Linked DNA regions of Homo sapiens: all the other regions are linked to region 2. The links are contacts of gene promoters, found by promoter capture Hi-C in human tissues and cell types (Jung and others, 2019). All regions are on one chromosome and are shown on one strand. The core of a region is centred on a gene start or on the middle of the fragment in contact, and the rest is flanking DNA. Distances in the headings are between cores, read along the strand shown. Region 1 has its middle 29 kb from the start of SYT4. Region 2 holds the start of RIT2 (Ras like without CAAX 2). Region 3 overlaps RIT2 (Ras like without CAAX 2).

Region 1 (2,828 bases), core at 151-2,650, 130 kb before region 2:
TAACCTTAAATATGTGCAGTTCTTTGCATATCAATTATGCCTTAAGATATTGTTAAAAAAGAAGAAAAAGATAATTCATTCAAGAAACCATTCCACCTTATCCTTCTTTCGTCAAACTCAGTGCTTTAGGGTTACCCTTTCACTGCCTTCCGTCACTTGGAAAGGCATTGCATCCCCGGACATTGGCTGCTCGTGCTGGAAAACTTTCCCTCTCTCTTATGAAAAAAAAATATTTTTCCTATGTCTTTTTATGACCGAGCTTTGTTTCATGGAGTGATACAAATGGACATTAACGAGTTAATTCTGTAATCTGAATTATTCAATTTTATTGGCTGGTCTGTGCTACCTTCCTAGCATCAGGAGGGATTGATTAAGTTAAAACCAATATATTTTGGAGGCCTCCAAGAGATAACACTACTTCTGGCAGTGACAGTAGCTGTTGCAGGGACTCTTTTTGAACAAGAAAGTACTCATGCACAGCATCGCCTCTTCACTCTTATGTGTACATTCCCAGCAGTATGTTTCACAGGATGTTACAAAATAAACTTTATATTAGCAGGACTATCCAAAATCCCAAGCTTTTTCTACTCTAGCAACATAAAAGATCACACTTCACCTCACCTGAAGGAAGGTGGATGAGGCAGATGATTTGTTTGAGTATAGAAAAGTAATGTTGTCATTTTATGTGGAAGTTTTGAGAGCCAAGAATGTGTTTCCAGATTCTTTTTTTCCTGTATTATGTTGGTGTTTGGAAATGTTTCAGATAGAATTGTTGCTCTGTCACCCTCACTCCCATGATACGAAGATGAGCTCCCAGCTAATCCACTGTTGTTGAAGCTACTAAAATCTGTGACTTGCTTGTTTGCGAATATTATTCCCTAAGCCTTAAAACAGCCATTTAAGAGGTAGGAAGACTTTCTCAATGTCATATAATTGGTTGGAAGCCTAGTACATTAGAGGTGATGACCAGTTCTGTGATTTTTTTCACTCTGCTCTTCTCCCAGCATTAAATTCTAACATTGTGTTTAGCAACTCTGTTCATCTAAGGTCTCCTTTTTGGAACCATTATACTCACACCTTTAGTCTTTTCAAGTTTTCTACCTGTGTTCCCTTTTGCAGAGTTGCCTTCCTTTAACTCTACTAAATGTGTTCCCTTCAAACTAACTTTAGGATGCTATGAATTTTTGTAAAGGGTGAAACATGAGTGAAGAAATCAAATACCATTTATAAACCACAAATTCAGCACAATTCATTTGTACAAGATAGTGTAGAAAGGAAAACCTGGAAATGTTGGAATCATGAGTTGAAAGTCCAACTGGCAACAAAGCTCAGGAAGTATTTAGCAAGCACATTTATTTCCAGATCAGATAACAGGCTATTCAAATTTTACATGTTTCACTGAAATGTATTCCAGAGAGTAAAAAAGTATGCATAATTCTCTGAGAATACTAAAGAATATGGAAAAGAATGAACTAGTAAACATTTAATTGTGATAAGGGAAGAAATTGATGTTACAGTTCTTCAAGTGTTTGGGCATGTTTTTCTGGTTATATTTGTTGAGAAGATGTTATATCTAGGAATTTCAGAGTAAATTTTTTATTTTATTAATAACTGCAGTCACACTTTTCATCATTAGCAGCCTCACAGCTCTCTCAAACCTTTTTCTTGTTCGTTATTATTATACTTTGATGAGTTAATCTTGCTGTGTAGACAGCTCCCTTATTTTATGTAAGCATCCTTTCTGTCATAATATTTTATTCTTTTTCTTTACTCCAAGTTCTCATTAACTTCAGAAAATGACCTCTATTCATTTAACTAGGAATCTTACCAACCAAGAGGCAGCTTAGCATGGCTAGAAAATGTACAAACTTTGCCAACAGACACATCATGATTTTAACTTCATCATTCTCCATTATTGGTTAGGTGACATTGAGCAAGTTATTCTGCAACTTGGTTTCCTCATCTTGTGCAATGCATAACTACCTTGCAGGCTTTCATGAAACAGTATATGTAAAGTGCTTGGTAAAACACAGATGTTCAGGATTTGAATCTTCCCTCTACTATACTGCACTCACAGGCCTGGCTCTGCAAGGCTGGGTTTCTTTGGAGAACACGGCATAGTCATAAACTCTCCTGTCACTTTTTTCTCACACTGCAAAGGTGTTTAACATCAAGGTTAAGAATAGATAAAATATGGTTGGGGTCATCTTTTCCTGCCATTGCTATGCTTTTATATGGGCCTATCCATAAAAAACAACCTGGGTTCAGTAGTATTTAAACAAGTCTTCCTATCTGATTTTCTTTTCCTGTGTTTAATATTTTTTCCTCATCATATGTGGGAAGCAAAAGTCTTTTAAAATTCATAGACAATGAATTTTGTCTCATGTCTTCATTACATTTTGTTTCTTTTGACTCAACCTCAGCATTTCTATCTATTCACACTCTGTATCATAGTGTTTTGGCCCTTCTTAAGTACCAACGTGGGATCTGCCATTTTCCTTTATTCTATTCTGAATAGAAACTTTTAAGCTTTCACCTAATTTTTACCTCATGCAGCAGTTATGTTATCTGCACACACATTCTTGCTTTATTAATTCTCCTTGGAAATCCTTGAGTACACTGTCTCACAGCCATAAATCCATGTCTAGTCCATCCTGTATTTACTTGCTTACTGCTACCAACAGCTTAGTACTGATACTGGTAAATAAAAAAAAAAAAAAAAAAAAAAAACCTTGGACTAAAAGTCATGGATCCTCAACTGTGGATAAAAACACATTAAGCATGTAAACATAAGAAATGGAGCAAGTAAATTAAATTATGAAATCATT
Region 2 (3,176 bases), core at 227-2,726:
AAGACTTGAACAGATACTTTGGCAAAGAAGATATACAGATGGCCAATAAACACATGAAAAGATAATCTTCTCTTCTTGGGCGAGTGTTTGTAAACAGTAGACTGACAGCAGCACAGATTCAAAATAATAACATACTCTTCATATCATATACCTGTGTGGTACTTATCACTTGTCAGACACAGTTTTAAGCACTATATAAATATTAGCTCACTTAATGAGTTAACAAAGTAGGGTTTTAATTAACTATTCAGTGATAAAGAAATTGAGGCACAGAGAGGTGAAGGAATTTGCCTAAGGTCATATAGCTGGTAAGTGGCTAAGCCCAGATTTGAACACAGGCATTCTGGCTTCAGAGACTGTGCTCTTGGCTATAACAATTTGAAGCCTCTACAGAAACCAGCAAGTATATATTGAGTGCCTACTCAGTGCACATATTATAGAATCACAAGAAATGGACTAAATATAGTTCTTTTCCTAGTGGAGCTTAAAATCTAGATAGAAAGACAAGTCTAGTCTATGCACACCAAACACTTGTCTGCATCTGATAATGATTCAAGCTTTAGAAAATAGACAATAAACATGTTAAACATCATCATGTTGATTAAAAGACAGGATCTTATTATGACAATTAGGAATTATTGAAAACATTCTTGACCCTCTGTAGTTTAGAAGTTCTTTAGAGAAAAACAAAGACCGCAAAGCTTTATAAGAATTCAAACAGGTAATAATAGTTTGGACATTTAAAAATATTCTTCTACAATCTTTTATGCTAGTATAATTGTCAGTAAAAATATTTATCAATTATCTCTTTCATGCTTGATAGTCCTTGTGATTTAAGTTGTTTCTAATAACTTAACGTAAACAAGCATGAGCCTTGTCCAAATATGACAATGATCTAATTCAATTACCCCCCTATGTTAAACCTGCAACTGTCTAGTGAGCTGAACAATTCCTGTTAGCCGGCTGTTATTTCAATAACACTGAAGATCCATCCTTATGAGCCCTGAGTTACTGTTCTGTTTTGTTTTTGTTTTGCTTTTCCATTTTCCCGGAATGAAAACTGCAATAGAAGAGTGATAAAATGCAAGACTATAAGCAGAAGAAATCCTTATTAATTGACTTTGATTAAAAGAAAATAGCATCTTTGAAGCTGTACCTACAGAAGTCATCCTGTGAGACATAGCAACTCCTGTGAGGTCTCAGATTCACTCCATTCTAGCAGCGCAGCCTGAAAAGGGGTCGAATGTGTGTGTGCCACTGACAACTGTGACTGTGCAGGGGGTAGGCAGGAAAGAGAAAGGAGAGAAACAGACAGTGGGGAAGGGAAATGGAGAAAGAATCAAATGAGGGAGGAAATGAAAATGAGAGAGAGAGAGAGAGAGAGATTGTAGGAGACGTGAAAGAGTGAAGGATCGGAAGGAAGGGTGGGGGATGCAAAAGCCAGATTTTTATTGGAAGCAATTGAAGTGGTTGCTATGAGACCCGCTCGAGCGGAGGACCAGCAGCCAGCCCGACGCTGATGGTTCTTACCTCGTACTAAAACCTTTGCTTTGACACAGTTTTAGAGTTGCTTAATATTCGAGCAAGCACCTGACACGGGTGACTTTCTCCTTCTTTTTTTCCTCCGGTCCCTCGGGTAAGATGGAGGTAGAAAATGAAGCCAGCTGCTCCCCGGGCAGCGCATCAGGCGGGTCCAGAGAGTACAAGGTGGTAATGCTGGGAGCAGGGGGAGTTGGTAAAAGCGGTAAGTTTTCACACCAAATGCTGGGGAAGGAGGGACCTCTATAGAGACAACTCTATAGAGTGAAAGAAAAATGATATTGCTGATGCTGTTAGAGGTGAACTGTGGCAGTTAAACACAGAGTATGGGTCTGGCAGGATGCTCCAAAGTGTCAGGACTGTTAAACCGATGCTGATGAGTCAGGATAATGCAGACAGCCAGTGATGATCCTCAGAACCTTAAGAGGATGATTGTTTTCTTTGATTTCATGCTGGGTGATATTTGCTCTTAGTGTATAGGTCTTTTTTAATAATAAAAATAAGTATGAAATTGTCATGGTATGAGAAAAATGTGCTCCTAGTCTCAAAAATCTTCACATAAAGAAAGAAGTGCTATGAATATTCAATTAAACACAGTTACAAACACAGACATATACTCGGGATGATGGGTGTTGATTGTTGTGTTTGTTTCTTTCATTAGGAGGTTCTTTTTCCTCATCTGTAGTCTGACATGGTGTGTGTGGGCTTTGAATACCAAAAGAAAGTTGGTTTTTGAAAGTGGCAGTGATTTATGGAATGATATTCATTGTGAGTCCTGTGCAGGGTGATCAAACTAAACTTTGTGGTCAATTAAAGGAGAAAGCTACACAAATAAATGAAGATGAGGTGATAATAGAGATGAAGAATAGCAAATTTCTTTTGGTACATAAAGAACGGAAGTGTCAGTTGTTGGGATTCTTGAGGAGCCTAAAAGGCCAAATATAAAAAAATTAAAAAAATAGATACATAGTAGTTTTTTGGCTGATCAAATGTTAGATAGCTCGGAGCTATGGCTATCACTAGAAAATAAATAAATATAGCTTTTTATATAAATATTAAATATCTCCACTGGGAATATATCTTTGGGAATTCTAAAAGGTAGAAAAAATATTATAGTTAGCATGGACAAAAAGCATCAAAACAAATCAGTAGTTTTAGTGTTGACAAAAAAATTAAAAGACGAAGACAATATTTTCGGCAGAAGAAACCAAAAAACTAACAACTTTGGTGGATGGGTCCACAAGGGATAGGAAAACTGAACAGTAAAGGAAGAGGAAGGAGATTGTGACTTTAGTGGACAACAAAGTTAAAGATAGTAAGAAACATAAAATTCAGCACCCCTACCTCTTCTCCTCACCCTACAAAAGAGAATTCTCATAAAAAATAAAAGAAATAGGTACATCTGGATGTGGTCAGTAGCAAAATGCATATCAAAGTGAAAAAAATTATTCATCTCTTCTAGGGAGGCAAAAATATGAAAGAAAAGCTTTGTAATTGTGTATAAATGAGGAATTTTTAAAAAGCTTTCTCCTCTAAATATAATGATTTGAGAAGGAAGGAATCAAAATAGGTTAGGATTTAAGGAAGGAGGAAGGGATGGAGGAAGGATAGAGACAACATGATCTATATAAAATGAA
Region 3 (3,110 bases), core at 427-2,926, 140 kb after region 2:
CATAGCAGGAACAATAGGAAAAATGTCATCGATTTTATCTTCCCAGAAATAGCAGTCTTAGTATAAATCAGACCTTTGTCGCTAGATATTCTCATAGTTTCTCAATGGGCATCAGAGGTACATTGGAATCCTCTCCGAGGGTCCATCAGATGAGGATGAAGAGTCATTAGGACACTGAGACTTGTACAATTGCCTTGATCATAAAAGTTCTTTTTATTTCTGTGAAGAAATAATATGTATTTAAGCTCATTCTGTCATATACAACCTCTGGAAGACAGGTATTGCAGAGATCATGGTCTTAGGATCATAAAGCCATTTTTCAAGGGTATTTTTGAGGTGTTAAAAAGGTAGACCAAGAGATGCCAGGTGCTGGGGAGGAAAGATTATTTTCTTCTCTTCCCCTTCATCCCCAAGCAATAATTAAGTGAGGCAGACACAAAGAACTGGAGACATTCAGCATCAGTGACCGTGACCTAGTCCTGTTGCTCATATTTATTTGGCAGAAGACAGCCAGGGAATTAGGTTTCCAATGGATCCTTCTACTCTCTCAGGTTGAAAGGAAAAGATTAAATGTTTCTAACATATGAGAGACACACTGAAGCATTTTCTGTAGATAATGACTTTGGGGAAGAGCAGTCATTTGGCTGTTCCTTCTGCATACTCTTGCCAGGGCTACATGTCCCCTCATCAGAAGATCAGTATATTCCTTATCAAATACATCTCCATCTGCTTGTCCTTGATCTGATAAGTCATTGTTTAAAATGACATCTTCCAGTAGTGGTCCTCTGTACCTGCAAATCTCCAGGTAGGGTTCTGTGTCTCCACAGGACACACCCCAGCTTGCCCTTCCTCATTGGGTTTTCTGTTCTTGGCAAGGCCTCCTGCAGAGGAGTCCAGGGGCACAGACATTCTGACAAGCATGTTAGTCACTGGAGAATCTGCCTGCAAACACCACAGAAAGTGTGTGATTGGCCACTTTGGGCAGACTTTCCAGAGCAGTAACACTGGGAATCTCCGGGGGGTATCAGAGAGATACTGATTGGTATCAACTACCCTATTACCTACCTAGTGGTAGTGGGGTAGTTGACACCAATCAGCATCCCTCTGATACTAGGGAGATTCCATCTATATAAATAGATGCTAGTGGGGTAGTTGATTTCTGGGGGAAAGATTTCAATTGCTGTGTAAGTCAGATATCATCTGGAAGCTCCTATTTCTCAGAGACCTAAGTAAACTGTACTGAATTCTCAATATTACAGCATGAGAAAAAATCCATGCTCTGCCTTATAATTCCTGTGAATTTCTAGGGTTTAGGTCCTTGTGGTACCCTGTCTTCAGCTTTTACTTCTATGATAGGAAAGGTTGTTCTTCTTTGCCCTGAGTCGTCCCACAAACTCAGTTCAGCCAGTTTTACAAGCCTTTTTCACAGCCAACAAACAGGTAGACTTTTATGACATTTCACTGAATGTTTAGGCCCAAAGGAAGGGTTACATCAGATCTCATGCAACTTCTTTTCTCTTTTCGTGGCAGAGCCCTCCTTGTCTTCCTCCTTCCTAACTCTGTTTTCAATCCATCACTTGAAGAACTGACCTTAGCTCAACATCAGTTCCTCTGAGTGTTCTCTGACATCTCCCTAAATAAGCACCCTTCAAAGTACTTCTAATGTAGCACTCATTAAAATACAGTGCAATTGCTTTTTTATGTATTCCCACAAGATTATAAATTCAATGTGGGTGGAAACCACCTGGCTTTTTCAGTTGTGTAGACTGTATTGCCATCTGAGTGTGCAGCACCTATTACATACTCAAATACATATTGAACCCTTTATTGATCAATATATTGATACATACATTAGATTTGTATCAATGCTGATTCATCCAGGATTTAACATTTTGGTCAAGAAAAAGTGTGCAGCACAGTACGTTGCAAGATACTTCTGCTCTGTACACACAGACACACATATGTACCTACAATTGAGATGATTTATTCAAGTAATCCTTTGAGAAAGATCTTATAAATTGATTCTATGAGACTTTGTACTATTTATTGCCTTTAAAAAATTTGGGTCAGTGATTAATATCTTGGAGGTGTATAATAGCTTGGAGTTATAGAAAAATAGCTTCATTGTAATATGAATTATATATTTCAGATTATGAGGTAAACCATGTAAGAAGTATTCAATCATCTTAAGATATTTGAAAATCATTTAATGAAAATTTACCATTAAATTTCTGATATTTTTTTCTTAGTTATATATTTTGGTGGTCTTATATTATCCTAATTTTATATTTGCAACTAAAATATTTTAAAATTATGTAAATGAATATGTTTATTCTGAAAAAAATACATTAGCTGCTTTGGGAAAATTATCCAGAATACCTTACACTTTTTAATTAATCAAAAACTTTATATTTCTAGTTATTATTGCAAACATATCTTGCCAAAAAGTTTATGATTTACTTGGGAAAAACATTTCCACATGGGTAAATATAAATAGCAGAAATAATTTAGTTTTAATTTAGTTTCATGGCTAATTTGAAGCAGTACTAAATAAAACTCATAACATAATATTCCTTGAGTTTGAATTTTGCTTTCTTTTTTCAAAAGCACTGTCTTATGTGCTACTTTTGTTGATCCTTATAGAACTCCCATGCGTTGACTAGTGTTACTATTATCGCCATCTTACAAATAAGGTTTCATGGCCAACCAATAACAGATATTTAGTGATAGATTTGAGGCTTTAATATAGGTCTTTAGTGATTTCTTCTTATGCAATTCTGCTGAAGAGGGACAGTGGAGAAGATATATCCTGAGAAGCAATGATCTCAAATTAAACATTAGTACTTTGAGATAAATTTTAAGGTAGTGGATGCCTCCAAGAATGCAGTCCTAGTGTGCTTTTCTGCGCAAATGATACAGCAGGCAGCTGCTACCATTTCTGCCTGATAAAGCTTTGTATACATTTGGCCTCATGCTTGAGAAGATAAATGAGTTCACTTCAGGATTGGGTCTATAGGCAGATGATTGAAATTCAGGGAAGTGTTTATATGCATTCAAGAGAGTATTTCTGACAGTGTATTTCTGCATGGGTGGTCTCAAAGGGAGTGAAT

What was found. The method cuts DNA at HindIII sites, captures the fragments that hold promoters and counts their contacts. A contact is called where the count stands out against the background at its distance.
Region 1: a contact is called between a fragment that was not itself captured here and the fragment with the promoter of RIT2 in region 2, in 2 of the 25 tissues and cell types used here (bladder and hippocampus).
Region 3: a contact is called between a fragment that was not itself captured here and the fragment with the promoter of RIT2 in region 2, in 2 of the 25 tissues and cell types used here (hippocampus and mesenchymal stem cells).

The regions. Positions count from the first base shown.
Region 1 is chr18:43,247,270-43,250,097 of GRCh38, reverse strand. No RefSeq gene overlaps it. Among named protein-coding and RNA genes, the nearest start is that of SYT4, 29 kb to the left of the region's middle. The HindIII fragment of the contact is 4,458 bases long and covers 1-2,828 here.
Region 2 is chr18:43,113,985-43,117,160 of GRCh38, reverse strand. It overlaps RIT2 (Ras like without CAAX 2), which reads left to right and starts at 1,476. Exons shown (of 5, transcript NM_002930.4): 1 at 1,476-1,744. The coding sequence starts at 1,642. The HindIII fragment of the contact is 9,119 bases long and covers 1-3,176 here.
Region 3 is chr18:42,978,442-42,981,551 of GRCh38, reverse strand. All of the region lies in intron 2 of RIT2 (Ras like without CAAX 2), which reads left to right. Among named protein-coding and RNA genes, the nearest start is that of RIT2, 140 kb to the left of the region's middle. The HindIII fragment of the contact is 7,856 bases long and covers 1-3,110 here.